Linked DNA regions of Homo sapiens: region 2 is linked to region 1. The links are contacts of gene promoters, found by promoter capture Hi-C in human tissues and cell types (Jung and others, 2019). All regions are on one chromosome and are shown on one strand. Each heading gives the region's core, a stretch centred on a gene start or on the middle of the fragment in contact. The rest is flanking DNA. Distances are from core to core; before and after follow the strand shown. Region 1 holds the start of SFXN5 (sideroflexin 5). Region 2 overlaps SFXN5 (sideroflexin 5).

Region 1 (5,605 bases), core at 1,331-3,830:
GGGAAGCCATTGGAGGGTATTTAAATCTACAAGGGCGTAGGGAGTCCCTTGATCAGATCTGCACTGTTGGGACTCTGACTTGCAGAAAGAGGAAGGACTGGAAGAGGGCCAGAGTGGAAGCAGGGAGACCTGTTGTGAGGCTACTGCAGTGACCCAGGAAATAGACGATGGGGGCTTGGTCTAGGATTCTGGCAGTAGAGATGGGTGGACTTGAGAGCTGTGTAAGAGGTAAGATCACTGGGCCTCTGGTTGCATTTAAAGGGTGAGGGAGAAGAAGGAAAGAACACAGGCGGCTCCCAGGTTTCTGGCTGCATTGATTGGGTGGCAAGTTGGGCTGTTTGCAGAGCCAGGGAGCCATGCGGGAGGAGCAGATATGGAGGAAAGAGAAGATCCTTAACATGGATGAATCACATGCAACGTGCTTTATGCAGGCCACTATGCTGGAGGAGGGGAGCTTCAAAAGTGCATACAACAAACACTTTTACTGCCTTCAAGAGCAGTGCCAAAAAGAAGTACCGCTATGGCTGCAGGAACAGGGTAGCCTAAAATGTTTATCTATGGCTCTAGAGCAGTGCTCACAGCACAGGGCTCAGTCATATAAGCCACTAAGACGTATTTGATAAATGTCTGTTAGGTCACTGAATGTCCCTAGTGCCACATACAGATAACAGACACCAGGACAAAAAGAAAAAGAAAAAAAAAAAGGAAACACAAATCTTTTACTCGGCACATTACTATATGCCTAACCTGTCTCCATCAGGGTAAGACAGAGGCAGAGAAGGGCAAGATCAGCCCCTTCTTGCAAAAGGCCTACAGGGGGTTTGAGGAAACCAAGTCGTCACACAGCAAACATTTAGAAGACCACAGGGCAGACTGTATGGAGAGCTATGAGGATCTGACTCAGGTGGCCAAAGAGATGTGCAGGAGGAAGCCTGCGATCTGATGGGACCAGAGAAGAAGGGAGCAAGTGTTTGCCAGAGAGGCAGGCCCGACTGAGCCTTTAAGAACGAGCAGAATGGGGGTGGGAGCGGGGACAGGCAATGTAATAAGGTCACTCAAGTCCAGGCAGGGACACCCCGACACTCTCGCCCTAGATGGCCTCCTACACTGGAAGGAAGATGCCAGTCTCGCCTCGGATACCTACATGCTGAGATGGCCTACTTTTAAAAGGAATTAAAGTCCTGTTAAGAAACACTGGGGACATTTTTTTCAGACGGCTCAGGAGCCAAGTTCCCTAATTATCAGCAAAGCTCGGGGCACCCCCTTGCTGGAACCAGTCCCCTTCCACCACAACAACAAAAAAAGAAAAAAAAAGCCACCGCACCGACCTTAGCACAATTTCCTTTCTTCCTTCAAAGTTCTTTTCTGGCCGCCTCGGCTGCCGCCCACCCCTGGCAAGCCCCGGTTCACTTCAGCGGTCTCTCTGCCTGTTTCCTAATAAATTCCGTCTCATTGGTGCGGGAGGCGCGGGAGCCCGAGGGTCTGCGGCGCGGGAGCGGCCCCTCCCCGGCTCCGGTCTCCGGGCCCAACCAGGCGCCCGGGCTCCGCGTTCCACCCCCGCCTCCGCAGTCTAGGGCCGAGTCGGCGACGCCCCAGAGGAGGTCCCGGAGGGAAAGGACCCCTGTCGCCGTGCCCCGAAGAGCCTGAGCGGGTGTGCCCAGAGCCAGTCCCCGGCGGCGCGGGGGCCCGGGCGCGGGAGACCCTCCGCGGAGAACACAGCGAGGAAGAGGCTGGGGGGGGGTTCCCAGGCGGCAGCCCCTCGGAGGGACGACGGCCCCAGGGGATGACACAGCGTTTCCCCCGCACGCCCTGGCTGCGTCCCCTCAGGGCATCGGCCGGCTTGCTGCGTCAGCGAATCCTCAGCCCGAGATGGAGAGCAGGGACGGGGGACGCCGGACCGCCGCTCGCCTCGGCACTCGCCCCCTCAACCTGCTGCGCGCGCCGAGCCCGGCTTGGGGGCCAGGGCTGGGGAGTGACCGCGGGGCGCGACGCTGCCCGGCGGCACCGCCAGCAGCTCGAAAGGAACGTCAGTCCCCACCGGGGGAAAAAGTTAGAAGGCATCCCGGCCACGCCAACTTCCCATCCAGGGCCAGACTAGAACTTTGCGTCCCGGGCGGGCAGCTGCACAACCCGGAGCGACCCTGAGCAGCCGCTCGAAGCCGGGCGCTCGGGACCTTGACCGCAGCCGCCGGTGGCCAATCACAGGGCGCCGCGGGCGGGAAAGGCTAGAGGGCGCGGGCAGTCGGGGAGTGACGGCGCCAAGGGCCAATAGGAAGCCAAGATGGGAGTCCGCGCCCGCCCCGTTGACCAATGGGAAAAGGGTGACTGTGACCGAGGTTCCCCCCCTGGCGCTAGCTGCAGGCTCCGCTGGCCGCGGGTGGGAGACCCTTGGGCGGAAGGGGACTTTGGAGGGGAGTTTGCTCGTCCTCTCTTTGCCACCCGCCGGCCCGCAGACCACAGCCCGGTCCTCACCTGCTGGAAGCGGGGTTTGCCCAGTTGGAAAGGAGGTGCATCGCTCGAGGCGCTAGCGGCACTAGCCGCCGCCGCCGATGCTGTAGTCGCTGTATCCGCCATGGCCACTGACGCCCGCAATCTCCGGCCCTTTTAAAATGTCCCTCCTCGGCCCCCGCCACAGCTGCCTCTCCCGATTGGCCCTAATCAACCGCAGCGAGCGGGAGGCGCAAGGCGTTGTGGGGAGTGTAGTTTTTCGCGTCGCGGCGCTTACAACCGTAGACTGCGGAGAGTTGCGGCCGTCCGGAGAGGTCTCGGTGCCCGCTGTCCGCGTTGCAAGGTGCAAGGTCGGCAGTCCAGGAAAGGTGTTCCTGTACGACGACCACGGGCCACCCCTCGCTGCTTAGTTGCCCCCAGAAGTTAGAGTTGCTGCCGTGGGCGTCGCTCCTGGGGCCAGGCAGCGCAGAAGGGTCCCATTCAAGGGGGAACCTGGGACCAGATGGGCAAAGACTCCAGGCGGAGTAGGGTTAACCTCGGAAGGCTTTCTCCAAGGAGTTGCACTGCGGACCTTCTCGTACTTTCCTCCGTCGCCACCCTGCCCACTCGTCCTGTGCTCTCCGGCTGCCCTGACACTCAGTTCCTGGAGCATGCTGGGGCCTGCCCGCCTCCCGACCCCTGAACATTCTGTACCCGGAAGACTAAATCTTCGCCTGATGCTGGCTTTCTGGCTTTAGCCTAAACATTGCATTTCCCAGTCCATCACTCTGCTTGCACAAAATCCCACAGAGGCTCCGTGGCACCCAGCACTTCTCTTTTGCACTCACAACTACTTACTGTTCTGGACAGTCTTTCTTACTGTAAAGTTCACAGGGCAGGGGCTATGACTTTTTGATTCACTTCAGTTTTCAGAGCCAGACATAAAAGGGCTCACAGTAGAGACTCAAATAAGTGTTGGCTGTGAGTTCATCAGTGGGGGATTAAGAGCCCTGGCAGCTTTCACCTTGTCTGGCCAACCAAGGAAGATCCCTCCTGGGCCTAATTCCTGGGCAGGAGGAGAACTTGGGACTAGGGTGGGTGGGGAGGGTGTTAGGTAAGGGGGAGTATTACAGATTGTGGAGTAAGGATCAGTATGGATAATAAACACATACAGTTGTAGAATGGATTAGCTGAAGATTCCCAGCTGAATTACCTGGTCAGTGAGCCAGACTTCGGGAGCTGCCTGTTTTGCCCAAGATGACAGTAGAAATATTTGGTCTTCTAGGGAACTCCACTTTGGGTCTCATTAGTCTCGTGGTGGAGTGCAGGGTTGGCTCATGTCTGCCAGTGTTTCTGGACACTACATGAGCTGTAGCAGTCAAAGTTTTTCATCCTCTAGTAGTTGAACCACAAGAAACACTTTTCATAAAGCTAGGGGGAGATTCTAGCTAGCCACGAAGAACAATTTGTATCTTGGATTTGTATCTTATCTTAGAGATTCTATCTAGCCATGAAGAACTATTTGTATCTTGGATTTGTATCTTATCTTCCCCTGCTAGACCATGCAACTTGAGAATAGGAATCCATTTCTTACCCTCTGTATTACCAATAAATGGGCCCATCTTAGGTGCGCAATAAATGTGGGTACCCTGGGAGTCAGAAAAGACTAAGTTCAGGCTGCTGGGCAACACTGTGCTGCTGCCCCCTTATAAGGGGCAGGGACAGTGTCATCCAAGAATCCCATCACCTTGATTTAAGGTGCTTTCTCCCACAGCAGCCTCCTGTAACTGTTCATTCCAAAACAGGAACACAACAGAGCCACCTGCAGTACATGAATGTTTTATTCTTCATAAAGTGCTTAAAACATGAAGAACAAGCTCTTTATAAAGAGCCTTAACTAGGAAGACAAACAGCAAAGCAGAACCATGCCTGCTCCCTGCCCAACCCACCTGCAACTTTCCTCCAAGTGTGGCTAGGAGAAGAAACATCAACAAGGACCCTGGGCTTCGATTCAAAAACTCCTCTGAAGCCATCCATGCCCTGGGCATTAGGGAGGCCCACAAAGGTCAGGGCCAGGGCTGGGAGTGAATAAAGCCCAGAGGAATCCCCAGTAGGGGGGGTGACTCCCCCTCTCTCAGAAAAGATACTTACTTCTCTAATACCCAATGACCCCCAAAAGCATGACTGAAACCCTGGGGACCAGTGGATACTTTTCTCAGATTTGATGAGTGGAGTTTAAGGTAGGTAACGTTACAGGGGCTTTCCTCCATGTGTGGCGCTCCTCTGCTCCATCCTGGCAGCAGACAGACATCACCCAGAGGGCACGTGTCTGCCTGAGGCCTTCCAAAAGCAAGCCCACAGGCCCTCTCCTGAAGAAGTGGTGGTCCCAGAGGAGCTCTTGCCTCCTCACTAAGCTGTTAAGTATCCTTCTTCAGCACCTCATCACCCCCCATTTTTGCTAATTCAGGGTGCCCCAAGCTGCCAAAGTTCCCTGCAGATGCCTTGGGGAAGCCTACCATGTTTTCTACAAGCAAACCAGGGGCTGGGCCAAAGGACAGATACTTCATTTCAAAGTGCACTGCAGCCAAGCCAGGCAAGCCCCTGGGGCAGAAGGGACAGGCTGAGATAGCAGCTTAATGGATGGATGGGAGGACAACAAAGGCTTTTTCCTAAGTATAGGTGTCTCCCAAAGGCATAGTGGGACCTCCCTCTTCCAGGCAAGCTGACTGGTCTAGTATGGCTAAGTCCTGAGGCCAGACAATGAGAGTGAGCAGGGCAGCCCCAGGCCTGCCTGCCCGCCTGCCCAGCAGTGTTTATCCTGGGATCCTCCTATTGGGGTTGAGGGAGGGGAAGACAGCAGGAAGGTTGAGGGAGCAGCAACTTGGCCAGACCAAGAGATTAACTTTAGGGGAGGGGAACAGCCCACAGCAGTGCTGTCCATTCCCATTCCCAGGGCCCTGAGAGAGCCATCCCTATGTATTCAACAGGTGGGAGGGGGACGCCACACAGCGGGAGAGGTCGACATCCAGGGGCTCTTGACCCCGCCCACCAAAGGCACATTTTAATTGGTTTCCAAAAGTTCAAACCCTGCAGCAACACAGAGTTTTGGCATCTGGACAGGCAACAAGAATAGACATGGAGGCTTGATCCCCAAATCATAAGCAGTCCCAAGCCCCAG
Region 2 (5,605 bases), core at 985-3,484, 92 kb before region 1:
GTGAGTGGATCACTTGAGGTCAGGAGTTTGAGATCAACCTGCCCAACATGGAGAAACCCCATCTCTACTAAAATACAAAAATTAGTCGGGCATGGTGGCACACGCCTGTAGTCCTAGCTACTCAGGAGGCTGAGGCAAGAGAATCACTTGAACCAGGAGGCGGAGACTGCAGTGAGCCAAGATTGCACCACTGCACTCCAGCCTGGGCAACAGAGAGAGACTCTGCCTCAGAAAAAAAAAAAAAAGAAAGAAAGAATAAGGAAAAAAAAAAAAAAGAAACTCTAACCCTACTCCAGTGTTCATCTATATTTTCTTCCAAAGGTTTTAATTTTTTACTTATCACATTTAGGCCTTCAATCTATCTAGAATTTTTTTTTGTGGATGGTATGAAATAAGGATATCCTCTTGCTCTCTCTTCTGTTTGGAAACCCAAATGTCCAATAAAGTTAAGAAAAGGTTCCCAACTATACTGGGAATTGGAAAAATGCAAATTAAAATGAGAAATAAACCAGTTCAGATGAACGCATTTTTCTTTTTCTTTCTTTTTTTTTTTTTTTGAGATGGAGTCTCACTCTGACACCCAGGCTGGAGTGCAGTGGCACAATCTCGGCTCACTGCAACCTCTGCCTCCCGGGTTCAAGCGATTCTCCTGCCTCAGCCTCCCAAGTAGCTGCAATTACAGGCGCCCACCACCATGCCCAGCTAATTTTTGTATTTTTAGTAGAGATGGGTTTTCACCATGTTGGCTAAGCTGGTCTTGAACTCCTGACCTCAGGTGATCCACTCGCCTCAGCCTCTCAAAGTGCTGGGATTACAGGTGTGAGCCACCACGCCCGGCCCAGATGAACAAAAATTTTAAGAGATTGATAATATCAAATATTGAAGAGGATGTAGGGAAACAAAAATTCAGACCCTGCAGGTTGGGTAAATGCCCGTATGCCCACCTGGCAATATTTAATAAAGCTAGAAACGTATGTACCCTCTAATGTGTCCATTCCATGTCTGGGTACACACGCTAGCCTGGCGATTCCCAGCACAAGTGAAACCAAAGCTGAGGTAGGGCCCAGATCTGTTTTTTTTTTAAATTCCCCAGGTGATTATAATACAGATGAAGGTTTGAAAACTTTTGCCCAGGAGAAACTCTTACTCATGTGCACATGAGCTGTTTAGAGCACAAGGTTGTTTAGAGCAGGACTGTATAATAATGAGAGACTGAAAACAACCTAAATGTCCCCAATTAATCACCTGTGGATAGCCACACAGTACGAATGCCTATGGCAGCTGAAATGAATGTATATGTATTAACATAAATAAATTTCAAAACCACAATGAAAGGCAAGTTTCAAAAGGATATGTACAGTATGGTACAGTTAATATAAATTTTGAAAAATTCATGAACAATACAATTGATGGCTTATGGTACATGCACATATGCTAAAATATAAAACCTAAATGGTAAGCATACACTAACTCCAGGTCGGTGCCTTCTGTGGGGAGAGAAAGAAACCAGAATCAAGAAGGCAGAGGGCTTTGAGTGTATCTAACGTTCTCTTTCTCTATTTCTTCAATTTTCTATGTTAATAGAAAAATTTCATAATTAAAAAAACAGGCCGAGTGCAGTGGCTCATGCCTGTAATCCCAGCACTTTGAGAGGCCAAGGCGGGTGGATCACCTGAGGTCAGGAGTTCAAGACCAGCCTGGTCAACATGGCGAAACCCTGTCTCTACTAAAAACACAAAAATTAGCCAGGCATGGTGGCATGCACCTGTAATCCCAGCTACTTGGGAGGCCAAGACAGAAGAATTGCTTGAACCCAGGAGGCGGAGGTTGCAGTGAGCCGAGATCATGCCACTGCACTCCAGCCTGGGTGACAGAGCAAGACTCCGTCTATAAATAAATAAATAAAGAAATCATTTAAAAATAGCCATGGAACAAACTACTGTGGCTATTAAGGAGAAGTTACAATTTTATGACTGCCATGGAAAGACATCTAAAATTGACTGTGAGGTTAAAAAGCAGTTTACAGAATAGTATATATATATCTATATATGAACCCATTTGTATTAAGTTACATTTATATAGACATATTTATACACTACATATAGATATAATAGGCAGAGATTCATATACTTTTAGATGTTAACTTGAATTTGGAGGGATATATACTAAATGACTCGGGAGAGAGAAGTAGGATTGCTTATTCTATTATGTATTATCAGAAAGAAATAGAGCCATTTTCATTAAAACGAACAAACAAGCACTCTAGTAGCAAGCATGAGACTTCAGCTGCTATTCTGGCTCAAGACTGATGTTGGACTAAGTACTTCCATATTCCACTTCCTCTTCTGCAAGAAGTGGGAGGTAATGCTGGCCTCCCCTCCCCTCTTCTCTCTTCTCTCCTCCCTCCCTCTCTTCCTTCCTTCCACCGTTGTGGGCAACACAGTCAATGATTCAAATGGTGTAAAAGGGGAAATAATAAAAAGTAAGTCTCCTTCCCAACCCTAAACTTTACCCCCTCCCCAGAGGCAACCACTATAGCCAGGTTCTCATGTCCCTGCCCGGGAAGGTCTATGTATATACATGTAGGCATATTACCACCTTTACACACTCACACATACTCTCTCTCTCACACTCGAATCACAGCAGAATACAACCCCTCTGCCTTTAAGACAGTGATGATTATCAAATAAGGATGCATGCCCTCATATTTGCTTGATTTCACAAAAATCCCCATTATTCCACCTGAGAGGCAGTGCTAAGTAAGCAGCACAAATTTTCTCTTAAGTAGCTTGAGAATTTGGGGAGAGTTTCACAACCCATATTGAAGTGTCACCGACTCAGGATCGGGAATTTCTGGATTGAAAAATCAGCCTGTAAGTCTAGGTGTAGGCTGACTCGGAAGTTTGGAATCTCTTAATGTGATTCCTGCTAACACATCCATCTTTTTAAAAAGCCCCTTTTTATCACAGCTGCCTCTTAGCTTGAGATTCTTCAATGGTTCCTCATCAACCAAAGATAAAGCTCAAACCCCAAGCTAACACTCATAGCGACAACATGCCCTCCTCTGTTCCCCAGCAGGCCAGGCCAGCCCAGCCAGGCCCCCTGCCCCCTCCTGCATTCCCCTCCTGCATAGCCCCTCCCTCCCTCTGCATTACACCTCCCCACTTTCTCTGCCTCTGGGCTTCTCTACCTTCTGGATTTCAGGAATTATAAAACCCCAGAACTGGAAGGCCATTTACGCAACAAGCACTTATGGAGCACCTACGGTATGCCAGATCCTGAGCAAGCTGCTTGGAAACAGGTGCCTTGGTCGCGTGCGAGTGCCCCTCACAGCTTCTGGGGCCTGTCTACTAATCAGACATTTCCCTCAAATCCAGGAGTCAGGCAGCTCATTCCAATAACAGGCTCTCATTTTTTTCAGAAGATCCTGTCACTCTTATGGCGTTACCACTTATCAGAGCTACTCTTGACGTGTACAGCCAGAATTAAACAGACTCCTTTGTTCTTGGTGTTCTATCTTTAGTAATGCAGCTGAAATCTGAGTGAGCATCATCAGAGGCACACACCACACCAGGGACCCATTCTGAGCACACGGCACACGAGACCCCCGGGTCTCTGTCTTGAGAACTTCAGCCAAGTCAGGTCTTGACACCCTCACACTTGTGCACCTACATTTTTTGAACAGCAAGGCTTACATCAAACCTTGTGAGATCTCATCGGCCCACCTCGATGGATCTTTTTAGATCCTGGTGCTCTTGCCCATGAATTCACAATCCCTGCCAGGTTGGTGTCCCTGTTTTTTGAATATGAGCCACAGGCCTCCTCCATCCAAGGCATCAAAATAACTGAAGGGAATGAAACTGAAGACAGAGCCCTGGGACACTAGACACTTTCCTCTGGCTGCCTTGGACCCACTGCCTGTGTCCTCTTGGGGCCTGACACACAGCAGGGGCCCATGCCAGTTCTGAGGCTGCCACCAATTCTGGCACCCAGCCCAGCCCAACCTTCCATGGCTCCTCAAAATCCACAGCACCACGCCCACATATTCCTTTGATAACATGATCTAATTATCCCCGCCCTTTTCTCAACAAACACCATTTCCGTACATAATTCAGTTCATATTAGATTCCTAAAATCGTAGAGGTGATGGAAGGTGATTTAGAGAGATTATCGAATGGGTTTCATCCTCTATAAAACTTTATTGCCCTTATCACTGGAACTTTGTGTGTGTGTGTGTGTGTGTGTGTGTGTGTGCGTGCCATTTTGAACATCTAACCACCTCTTACCCCCAAAGAACAAGTTCCCTGATGGCAGGAATGTGCCACCCCTGATTGGGGCAGGAGGAACAGAGTGGAGCTGGAAGAGGATCAACATTTAGTAGGTGCTCATGCTACGCTGGGAAATTGACATGTTCAATCCCCATGAAAACTTTGCTTAGAGATACTAGTATCCATTTTATAGACGGGGCCATAATGGCCTGGAAGGGTTGGATAATGTGCCCAGGATGATCTGGAAAGGGGTGGGCCCATTGGTCATCCACCCTAGGCCTGCTGACTAAGAGTGGACCACAGTGATGGTAAAAATGTAAACAAGAAAACAGAGCACTCCAAAACAACTTTAAAAAGTGGAAAAGGTCCAGAATAAATGTCCAGGTAGCTACAGAATCTGGCCACCACTGTCATCAGGGTGAGGTTCTGCCACGAGTGACTCATCTCAAACCTTTTGTGCCAAAGCACTCATTTGATCATTGAATAAACCCACATTGAGCACTGACTGTGTGCCAGGCACCGAGGGGGCTGAGTGTGGTGGTAGATGAGATCCAGTCCCTGCCTTGGGGCACTCAATGTCTAATGGGGGAGGCAGGCTTGGAAACAACACGGGCAGTCCCCAGATAGACATCGGCACACACAGGTAGCTGCCATCTAACCCTGGCTGGGACTCCCAGCGAGGGCTTCCAAGAGGAGATGGTGTTTGAGCAGAGTCACAAAGGCCTGGTAGTCGAGGGAGGGCAGAGGGTGCTTGAGGTAGTGGGAAGAGCAGGTATCCAGACATCAGGGCCACATGCAAAGGCCTGGGGCCCGGCAAGAGGGAGGAGAGGAGGACGGCAGCGTTCTCCAGGGCTGCAGTGGGGCACAGGAGAGGCAAGAGCAGGCCAGGTCAAAGAAGGGACTCATGGCATCCAGAGGTGCCTGAAGGGCATGAATGCCACGTGAAGCACCACTGACCTTGATGGATGGACCTTGATGTCACAGGGCCCAGGACAAGCTGCCACAGGTGCACACTGCTGCCTCCTGCTCACAGGGGATGAGGCCTGGGGAGCTGTGCTCTGACCTGGGGGTAGGCCCTCCAGACTTGGGCAGCACTGCCATGGCCACTCCTAGACGGAGGAAGCAGGGTGGACTGAGCACAAAGGGGGAGCAGTGGAGCAAAGAGGGGTTCAATGACATGAAGACCCGTGTGGCCTTGGGGAGAAGGGGGCATGGACGTCAGGGAACAGGTTTGCCACACCTGTGAATGAACAGAAGACCTTCTCCCAAATAGTGCCAGGACACCCTGGGCAACGGACTCATTGGTTAACACCGAGATCTTTTCATGGCAATAAAAT

What was found. Contacts are between HindIII fragments. The study calls those that stand out against the background at their distance.
Region 2: a contact is called between a fragment that was not itself captured here and the fragment with the promoter of SFXN5 in region 1, in 2 of the 25 tissues and cell types used here (liver and spleen).

The regions. Positions count from the first base shown.
Region 1 is chr2:73,069,132-73,074,736 of GRCh38, forward strand. It overlaps SFXN5 (sideroflexin 5), which reads right to left and starts at 2,581. Exons shown (of 14, transcript NM_144579.3): 1 at 2,473-2,581. The coding sequence starts at 2,574. RAB11FIP5 (RAB11 family interacting protein 5) reads right to left here. Exons shown (of 6, transcript NM_001371272.1): 6 at 4,251-5,605. RefSeq lists a silencer at 1,520-2,309 and enhancers at 2,450-2,499, 2,700-3,179. The HindIII fragment of the contact is 18,440 bases long and covers 1-5,605 here.
Region 2 is chr2:72,977,744-72,983,348 of GRCh38, forward strand. The region is part of intron 10 of SFXN5 (sideroflexin 5); the gene reads right to left. Among named protein-coding and RNA genes, the nearest start is that of EMX1, 63 kb to the left of the region's middle. RefSeq lists an enhancer at 4,746-5,246. The HindIII fragment of the contact is 9,466 bases long and covers 1-5,605 here.